2 separate regions of the Homo sapiens genome follow, and region 2 is linked to region 1. The links are contacts of gene promoters, found by promoter capture Hi-C in human tissues and cell types (Jung and others, 2019). All regions are on one chromosome and are shown on one strand. Each heading gives the region's core, a stretch centred on a gene start or on the middle of the fragment in contact. The rest is flanking DNA. Distances are from core to core; before and after follow the strand shown. Region 1 holds the start of PCDH17 (protocadherin 17). Region 2 has its middle 190 kb from the start of LINC02338.

Region 1 (5,181 bases), core at 1,277-3,776:
CTAGCACTGTCACCCTCACCGTGGCGTTGCTCTCCAAGTGCGCGGGCGCCCCCGAGTCCTTAGCAAGCACCTTGAACTCAAAAGCCTTGGTCTGCTCGAAGTTAAAGGAGCGCAGGGCGTAGATGGCCCCGTTCGTGGGATTCACAGACACATAGGTGTAGATAGACACGTCGCCGATGTGCGAGGGCAGGATAGAGTAGGATACGGTGCCGTTCTGGCCCAGGTCGGGATCCTGGGCGAGCACAGAGCCCAGGTACTCTCCCGGGATGTTGTTCTCGTGCACCTGAAGCACGTAGAGCCCTTTGGTGAACCGAGGCGGGTTGTCGTTCTCGTCTAGAATCTTGATCGCGAACGACTTGGTGGAGTTGAGGGGAGGAGAGCCCCCGTCCCGCGCCACGATGGTCACGTTGTACTCGTCTTGTGTCTCGCGGTCCAGCGGGCGGTCAGTCACCACCGTGTAGAAGTTGTCGTAGTTCTCCTCAAGCTTGAAGGGGACGGAACCCCCGGGCCCGCCCAGGCCCCCGCCGCCGCCCGTCCCTCCTCCGCCTAGGACCCGACACTGCAGCTGTCCGTTCTTGCCAGAGTCCCGGTCAGTGACCCGCACCAGGGCGATGACGGTGCCGGGAGGGGCGGCCTCGCTCAGCGCCCCCTGGCGCACGGAGACGAAACCGATGGACGGCGCATTGTCGTTGCGGTCGATGAGCTTGACCGTGACTTTGCAGTGGGCTGGGATAGGGTTAGGCCCCAGGTCTCGGGCCTGCACGTCAATCTCCAGCATCCCGTTTTCCTCATAGTCCAGATTGCCCTTCACACGGATTAGGCCGGTCTTGGGGTCGATGGAGAAGAGCTCCCGCACGCGGTCAGGCACGTAGCTGCTGAAAGAGTAGAGCACTTCACCATTGGGACCTTCATCGGCGTCGGTGGCGTTCAGATCGATGACCACTGTACCCAGCGGAGCGTTCTCGGGCAGTTCCACCAAGTAGGATGGCGCCTCGAAGACCGGGCTGTTGTCGTTGGAGTCAATCACCTTCACGTTGATCTGTACGGTGGCGGAACGTGGAGGCTCGCCACCGTCCAGGGCAGTCAGCACGAGCGTATGGTGATTCTGTTGCTCGCGGTCCAGAGCCTTCTGGATGACCAGTTCTGGGAACTTGGTGCCGTCGCCGCGGGACTTAACGTCCAGTCCAAAGAGGCCGTGATCGTCGCGCGTGAGCAGGTAGGTGCGGAGCCCATTCTCGCCGGCGTCGGGGTCATGTGCGCTGGTGAGGGGGAAGCGGGTGCCCGGAGCAGCGTTCTCCGAGATGTCCATTTCGATCTGGTCCGAGGAGAAGGAGGGCGCGTTGTCGTTGATGTCCTGGATCTCTACCTTGATCATGCAGATCTCCTTGTCGTTGGCGAACACCTCGAGGGACAGCTGGCACTTGGCATTGTGGCGGCACAGGGACTCGCGGTCGATGCGCTGCTTGGTGTAGAGGAGCCCGCTGTCTGCGTCCACGTCCAGCAGGTGCGGTGCGGAGTTCTCCAGCACCCGGTAGCTACCCGACTTGCTGCGCCCTCCGCCGCCGCGCTCTGCAGGCGGAAGCCCAGGCTGCAGTCGAGCATCCCTGCCGATGTTCCCGATCACCGTGCCGGCCCCTTGCTCCTCCGGCACGGAGTAGTTGAGGTTCTTGAGAGTGAGGGCAGGGGCCCATAGAAGAAAGCAGCAACAGATGGAAAGGTACATCCCAGACCTGTAAGGTGGGGGCAGGAGCAATCGGACTGGAGGAGCCAGAGAGGGAGTGCGCGCCAGCCTGGGGCCCTGGCGCAGCGTGCGCGCGCGACGCGAGCCACAAGTCTATGGGTCCTTTTTTCCCTCTGCACCCGAGCTGCGGCACCCGGTGGTCTCTCCTTATTCTGCTCAAGTTCCCTGAACCTGTTGATCTACAGCATCCGCACTGGGTGAGAAGCTGCGGTGCAGCAGAGCTGCAGGGGCTTGGAGCAAGGCGGTGGCTTCCTGCGGCTGGGGGTGAGCCAGGGGTTTCGTCTCTCCCGCCCGGACTTCGGGAGGCTCAAACTTGAGCGATGAGGCAGGCGATAAGAAGGAAATCTCGTCTGGGAGAGATGATAATGAGCTAAAGAATCAGTAGGTTTTCCTCGCTCCCGCTAGGGTGCTGCAAATCTACTCCCGCCCGGAGACTCCGGAATACTCTTCACATCGAGTGGGGGAGGGAGCAGGGAGGTGTGTCTCTAGGCAGATCCGAAAGTGAAATTCTTACTTGCTGCTCGCCTCCCGTGATGAAATTGATGGGGATGAAGAGCAACGAAGACAGAGTCACAGATATATTTTGAAGCTTCCCCAGCGCACCGTGAAATGTCTGCTTGCTGCGCGGGCCGGTCTGTTTTCAGGCAGTGTTTTGCTGCATTTAGAGATCTAATCTTGCATTGCTGGCTGAGGCAGCGGCGGCGGCGGACTGCATCTACCAGCCAAGCGTATTTTTTTTTTCCTCTCTCTCCTTTCCGAGCAGCCAAAGGGAGGGGAGGAAATGCAGCGTAAAGAACTAGTGTCCCGATTTGTAGTTTCCTCTCCCCACCAGGCTCCTCCCTCTCTTCCTCGGAAAAGGCTCTCCCCCGAAATCAAGAAAGCCACAGCCTGATCAGCATTTGCTGTGTGAGTCTATTGGGAGGGGGGAAGTAGAGAGATAAATCTTCGCCTCTGTTCGTAGAACACACTCTCTGATTTCTCTACGCCAAGCCAGTAGCCTCCGCTACCATCCCATCCTCTCCCCGCGAGCAAGGACTTCTCTCCAAGCAGTTTAATTCCAGTTTGCTTTTCTTCCCAGGCGAAGGGAAATCAACAGGCAACTCATGGTTGGACGTGCACATTTAAAGGAGGAGGGGGGAGGCCGAATAAAAAGGAAGGGGGAGCCTCCCTCCCAGTCCTTGCACACACACTCTCCCTGTCTCTCGCTAGAAGGGAAACAGTCTCTGCATTCACAGGGCTGGGCTGTCAAGTGCCTCTTTTCTTTCTATTCAGCATCTCCTTCCAATAGCCCTGCCTCCCAGTCCTCTTCATCTAGAAAAGAAAACCTTGGCGAGGAATAAAAGTGATGAATATTTGAAGCAAATAAAGTACGTGTTTTTTTTTTTCCTTCAATTTTCTCTTATAGTAGGAGGAGTGGGCTGGATGAAAGCAACACATCAAGGTTTGGCGTGATGCATTCTGCAGTCTCTCTTTCAGTTTTTCTGGGCGACTCAGGGAGGGCAGGGGGTGCAGAGCTGCGGCCGCGGCGGTCCAGCCAGGGGCTCCTACCCCGGGGAGCTCCCTCCGAGGGGATGTTAGACACAGGTCTGTCTACACATTATTTCGGGTTCTGGAGGCGCCTCGACATACGGGAATGACACATCCAGAAATGCAGGTGTTCCGATCTGCCGGATGAGTCAGAAGCAGCGGAACGAATCGTATTCACTCTCGCCTCATGGTCCTCCCTTCACAGACATTAGTTGCGGCTTCTTCCTAACGCTTTCTCTGACTCAGTCTATAGAAAGAAAAACCAGATTCATGTTTTTGGGGAAAAAGAAAATGCAAGAGAAAAGGATGGAGGGAAGAAGGTGAAGCTGAATCTAGCAGCACTTTTACTCTACCTCTTTCTGCCGGAGTCCGAGGTTCTGGAAAACAAGGCGTCTGCTTTGCTAGGTGTATTGGTTTATTTATTTTGTTTATTTTTTTTAAACCTTTCCTCTTGGTTAGGCGAGAGGTACCCCGAAATTTTTCAGAGTCTTGGAAAAGGAAAAACAAAATCAGGTTTCCAGTAATTGTTCCCAGCTTAGCCTCGCATCATAGTTCAAGATTTTCCTCTCAATTTTTTCTATTCACAAAGTCCAACATCGATGTGTACAGTTAATTGTGCAGTCTGTTGTGGAGGTTTTTTTTTTTTTTAATTCCTCCTTTTCTGTCACGGGTGGTCTCTTTCAGTCTGGTGTCTGCCGGGATCACCCCACAGTCTGAGAAAGATATGCGGATTTCAAAGCAAATAAATCCATCTCCGCAAGCAAAGCAGCGGATGAAAGGAAAGGTGAAAATTCAATTCAACAGTTGGAGTAGCGTCTCCCCAGCCGCCTTCCGCCGCTGCCGCATCCGCCGGGCTCGCGATCCCTGCTCTCTCCCCAGCGTCTCTTGCTGACTGACTCTATTCACCTCACGCCGCCGCTTAAACATTGATACTGATTCCCTGTCAGCCAATCCGAGCGAGGAGCAAGGCCCTGCCTTCTCGGCCCGCGTCCAATGGGAGGCGGAGAAGAGGATGGCGGGGGCGGGGCCAGGAGCCCCGGCTCTTCGGAGTCATTGATTAGATCAGTTAGATGGGGAACCAGTCCGGCTAGCGGAGCCCAGCGCTCCGCCAAAGCGGACGCGCCCCAGGATTCGCCACCAGGTCTCCCGGGCCTTTAACCACCGGGAGTAGCTCTTCCAGCGCCTTCCTTCGGAAAAGAGAATTTACAAAAAAAAGTTTAACAGCGATTTAATTTTTTTGTGGTCCTACATACACGGAATCGGGAATCGCAGTATGCTTGCAGAATAACGTAGCTGCGGTCTGCCTAAAGGGTTTCTCTACACACACTCTCACACACGCACGCACACACGCCCTCGCCGCACACACGCCCATGCCAAGGGAAGCGCAGCCCTGACTCCGCGTGGACCCATCTGAATGAGGTGCGGAGGAGTGTACGTGGGTGTGTGTGAATGCGCTTCCACGGGCTGAGATGTGTATTTCGGTGAGTGTGTGTGAATTCGAGGGCGCTCGTGAGCCCGTTTCTGCCCGCGCTGGTACGAACATGCCGCGAGCAACAGCAATCAATATGTAACTTTCTTCATCCTCTGAGAAAAATCAGCTGTCCTCAGGCACCTATGCAAGGAAAGTCACTTAATTATGAAAGTGTTTCAGAAGAAAAGCAGACTCCCGTTGAAAGAGAGGCTATGTCTCTTAAGAGAAATAGAGCCTCTCCTTTAAGGAGAAAGGCTCACTGTCAATACAAGCTTTGTAAACTCAAATCCGGCTAAATACTACTTAAGGTTCTACCCCTTTTGGTCATCCTTCCTCACCATCTCAGCCCAGGTTCAAGGTAAAGTGGATACCCACCCCCCAACCCCCGACACACACACACACACACACACACACACACACACTAGTTTCGGTGTTTTGTTCA
Region 2 (5,181 bases), core at 1,002-3,501, 340 kb before region 1:
AGCATTCGAGAGGAAGCAGAGCATAAAAGTTTGGAAAATTTCCAGCCTGACAATGGAATAGAAAAGAAAAACCCATTTTCTGGGGAGAAATTCAGGTCAGTGGCAGACATTTGCATAAGTAGCAAGGAATCAATGTTAACCACTGAGACAATGGGGAATATATTCCCAGGGCATGTCAAGTACATTTATGGAAGCCCCTCTCATCACAGGCCCAGAGGCCTAGGAGGGAAAAATGGTTTTCTGGGCTGGGTCCAGGGCCCACCTGCTATAAGCAGCCTTTGGAGTTGGTGCCCTGCATCCCAGGCGTTTCGGCTGTGGCTAAAAGGAGCCAAGATACAGTGTGGACTGTGGCTTTAGTGGGTTCAAGCCTCAAGCCTTGGCAGCTTTCATGTGGTGTTGAGCCTGTGGGTACACGGAAGTCAAGAACTGAGTTTGGGAACTTCTGCCTAGATTTCAGAGGATGTATGGAAATGCCTGGATGTTCAGGCAGAGGTGTGCTGTAGGGGTGGAGCCCTTATGGAGAACATCTGTTGGTCAGTGTGGAAGGGAAATGTGGGGTAAGAACCCCCACATAGAGACACCACTGTGGCATTGCCTAGTGCAGCTGTGAGAAGAGGCCCATGGTTCCCCGGACCCCAGAATGGTAGATCCACAGACAGCTTGCACTGTGCACCTGGAAAAGCTGCAGACACACTCAATGCCAGCCCATGAAAGCAGCCAGGTGGGAGCCTTTACCCTGCAAAGGCACAGAGGCAGAGATGCCCAAGGCCATGGGAGCCCACCTCTTGCATCAGCGTGACCTGGATATGCGACATGATGTCAAAGGAAATCACTTCAGAGCTTTAAGATTTGACTACCCTGTTGGATTTTGGACTTGCATGAGGCCTACAGCCCCTTTGTTTTGGCCAATTTCTCTTATTTGGAATGGCTGTATTTACCCAATGCCTATACTCCTGTTGTATCTAGGAAGTAACTAACTTGCTTTTGATTTTTCAGGCTTGATATAGTTTGGCTGTGCCCCCACCCAAATCTCATCTTGAATTGTAACTCCCACAATTCTCACATGTTGTGGGAGGAACCCTGTGAAAGGTAATTGTATTATGTGGTCTTTCCTGTGCTGTTCTCCTAATAGCGAATGAGTCCTGTGAGATCTGATGGTTTTAAAAATGGGAGTTTCTCTGCACAAGCTCTCTCTTTGCCTGCTGCCATCCATGTAACATGTAACTTGCTCCTCCTCAACTTTCACCATGATAGTGAGGCCTCCCTAGCCATGTGGAAATGTAAGCCCAATAAACCTCTTTCTTTCGTCCAGTCTCAGGTATGTCTCAGGTATGTCTTGCCAGTCTCAGGTATGTCTTTATCAGCAGTATGAAAACAGACTAATACAAGGCTTATAGGCAGAAGGGACTTGCCTTGTCTCAGATGAGACTTTGGACTTTGGACTGTGGATGTTGAGTTAATGCTGAAATGAGTTAAGACTTTGGGGGACTGTTTGAAGGCATGATTGGTTTTGAAATCTGATGACATGGGATTTGGGAGGAGCCAGGGAGGGAATGATATGGTTTGTCTCTGTCCCCACCCAAATCTCGAATTGTAGCTGCCTTGTGTTGTGGGAGGGACCTCGTGGGAGGCAATCAAATCATGGGGTTGGTCTTTCCTCTTCTGTTCTCATGATAGTGAATAAGTTTCATGAGATCTGGTAGTTTTATAAAGGGGAGTTTCCTTCCACATGCTCTTTTTGCATGCTGCCATGTAAGATGTCCCTTTGCTCTTCCTTCATCTGCCATGATTGTGAAGCCTCCCCAGCCATGTGGAACTGTGAGTTCATTAAAGTTCTTTCCTTTATAAATTACCCAGTCTCAGTTATGTCTTTATTAGCAGCATGAGAACAGACTAATACAACTATCAAAACATATTTAAGCTTTGCTCACTTCTGTAAAACAGTCTGGTTTACTTTCAAACTGAGAAAGGAAGAAGAAAACAAAGGAATTTTTTCCATTTTCCAATATGCTGAACTGCTAGTCCTCTTCTAACACCACAGGCAACTTGATAGTATTGATGTGATATATTGTGGAAGTAAACTGAACTTTAATTGATCCATGATTTTAATCCATACTGTGCTGCTGGGAGGAAGATCTGAGGTACTGGAGTATGATGTGAAGTGTAACAAATGCCTTTGTGACTTTAAATATCTTTACAGTTTTGTAATAGTCACTGCAGACTTAAGCTAGAAATAACAGGAATAAAAATGTAAAGTGTATTTTGACAATCTCGTAATACTTTAAAATGAAAATAAAACCTGAATCAAAGCAAGTGTATAAAACCAAGAAACAAAATAAATATATTAAACCATATGCTGTTAAAGTATCATTACTCTCCTGAACTCTTGTAACTTAACAACGGAAATACATTTTTCAGACTGAATTATCCTGCCAGTTGTGCATCATTTGGTGACATAAAACCATCTTACAAAATACAATATAACCTCAGGATTTTCTCCTCACTACATCATGGACTTTGCATAACAGCTACTCTTTCTCCCACTGAGCAAATGAGCCAATAAGGTGAGGTAAGGGAAGAGGTGGAAAAGAAAAGAAGTCGAGAAGAAAGTCATTTTTCCTAGCCATGTAAGAGAACATGTAACGGCTATGTTATCTCATTCAACACAAAGAATCCCTGGATTTCTTTTTTTCACCACAAAGCAGTCAGTATTCCCTCCTCCCCAGCTATCTTACCCAACAATACTTCAGAGACAGTTTGGTTCTTTGGCTTTTAGTGTCTGTTAAAATGTAGAACTGAAAGCACACTATGGAGCTTTGATTTAGCATTTTTTTTCCTTCTCACAGAAACAAAAACCTAAAGGAATTTTAGGTTCTTCTAAAGTGATCCTGAAACCACAACTAAAAGTCAGGAATCAAAGGACAAACCATTGTCCAGGCATCCTATTATCCTGAGCAACGTTATGTTCACCAAGAACTTCAGAGGCTTCTAAGGGTGTTTATGCAAATTTCCTCATAGTGTGGGAGATATCTAGTGCTATCCATGCCATTTAAATAAGTACTTGAGCTCAAAGGGAAAAATGTGGTAAGCAAATGCTACAGGGTGTCAAGAGACTAAGAAAAATGTTAAACCTTACATAAAAATAAACCCAACCCCAAAGATTAATGACTGTGCAGAAGTTAAAACTGGATAAGAAAGAAGAGTATAATATGTAAATGTGACAGAATTCATATTGTCAACTCTTTTAAGATTCCTAAAATATGGGTTCAGCAAGGAGATTTATTTATAAATATTGTAATGTTTGAATTTTACTTGAAGAGACTATTGTTTTATCAAAGACCATAAGTGTAAAAACAGAAAGAATTTGTCATCAGAGGGTAGGAAAAAGCTCAACATCATCACAATACTAGGAAGTGTTTTTTTTTTTTTTTTTTTCTCTATTGACTTTAATTAATCTCTCTCTCTGGACTTCTGTGAGATGGAAAAAGGTTTATTTTTGTTTTTAGAGCTTGCTTGCCAGATGGAATTCTTTGAACTACTACTGCTCTAACTCTGCCAACCACAGCATTCACAGCTAAAGATTTTAATTTGTTTTACAACCCGACAAAAGTAGAACAAGTAACTGTGTATGTAGTGGAGTAGGGAGGTGAGGGTCAACCCTGAGGACACAGACATTTACTATTAGTAAGGTAGGCATGCAATGCCCACCTCTTTCTGTTTCTTTCTTCTAATTATTATAAAAGATCCCTGGCACTGAGGTCAAAATTTAACATTTTTAAAAATCTCTTTACCATTATCTCTAAAATAACAATGACCTAAGTAGAAGCTTGGTTTTTCTTCCTGTTACATTTTTTTTTACAACATACAAGGCACCACATTGCCTATAGTAGTTGATATACACAATTAGATGCATTGATTTAAATTTCAGTGTGATCAATTTAAGTCAGGATATATTGTTAAAAGTGCTACATATTAGAAAAGCCAGATAGAAATGCTTTTGAAAACAATTTTAAGCATCACAAATAATATATAGGGGATTTAATTCTAACATGATTCACCTCACTAAAACTTAATGCTTGCATACTAGTCAAAAAAGCAATTCACATGAAAACTGATGGTTTTCCTACTGAAATGTTCTTCCCTCTTCCATTACCCTTACATTGCATAAACGTTAGCTTACTAATGACATTCTGTGTTCTCTCTGATCTAGGGCAACATATGAGAAAAGGAAGAGGAAAGAAGAGGCAGTTGATTTGAATTAAGAAAAATACTTTTATTTAAATTCAATTTTTAATAGTAGCTCATATTGAGAGGGCATAGACAGAGGGGATTTAACTAGTTTCCCAGATAGACAATGGCAAAATCAAAGCAAAAAGCAATCCTTCCTTCTTTTCCTCCTTTCTCTCCATCTCTTTTTTTTTTCTTTTCTCTTCCTCTCTTTTTTTAATGAGACAGAGTCTGGCTATGTTGCCCAGTCTGGTCTGGTACTCCTGGACTCAAGCCATCCTCCTGCCTCAACCTCCAGAGTAGCTACAATTACAAGTGTGAGCCACTGGGTTTGGTTCCTTTTCTTTCTTGCTTGCTTGGTTTTCCTTTCCTTCTTCCTTCATCGTACATTTACTGATTAACCTATTATGTGCCTGGAAACATAAGTACCAAATATCTTGATATATGGCCATGAAGAAAAAAAATTATCTACAAATTTAAAATCCACAAATGTTGAATAAGAAACTGCCATTTTAGGTTCTGTGTTAAAGTTGAAAAACAACTGGTAAACAATAGAGATACCCCTTGATATGGTTTGGCTGTGTCCCTACCCAAATTTCGTCTTGAATTGTAGTTCCCATAATTCCCATGTGTTGTGAGAGGGACCCAGTGGGAGATAATTGAATCATGGGGAAAGTTTCCCCCACACTGTTCTCTTGGTAGTAAATATGTCTCACAAGATCGGATGGTTTTATAAAGGTAAACCTCTTTCGCTTGATTCTCATTGTCTCTCTTGCTTGCTGCCATGTAAGACGTGCCTTTAACCTTCTGCCATGATTGTGAGGGCTCGCCAACCACATGGAAAGTGTGAACCCATTAAACCTCTTTTTCTTAGTAAATTACCTAGCCTTGGGTATGTCATTATCAGCAACACTCCTTGTCCTCATGTAGTTTGGTACCCAACTTAAACTGTAA

Evidence for each region. Contacts are between HindIII fragments. The study calls those that stand out against the background at their distance.
Region 2: a fragment that was not itself captured here is called in contact with the fragment with the promoter of PCDH17 in region 1 in 1 of the 25 tissues and cell types used here (H1 embryonic stem cells).

What each region holds. Positions count from the first base shown.
Region 1 is chr13:57,629,089-57,634,269 of GRCh38, reverse strand. It overlaps PCDH17 (protocadherin 17), which reads right to left and starts at 2,526. Exons shown (of 4, transcript NM_001040429.3): 1 at 1-2,526. The coding sequence starts at 1,723. RefSeq lists enhancers at 1,340-2,019, 3,978-4,563. The HindIII fragment of the contact is 5,195 bases long and covers 1,408-5,181 here.
Region 2 is chr13:57,968,451-57,973,631 of GRCh38, reverse strand. No RefSeq gene overlaps it. Among named protein-coding and RNA genes, the nearest start is that of LINC02338, 190 kb to the left of the region's middle. The HindIII fragment of the contact is 5,221 bases long and covers 1-4,861 here.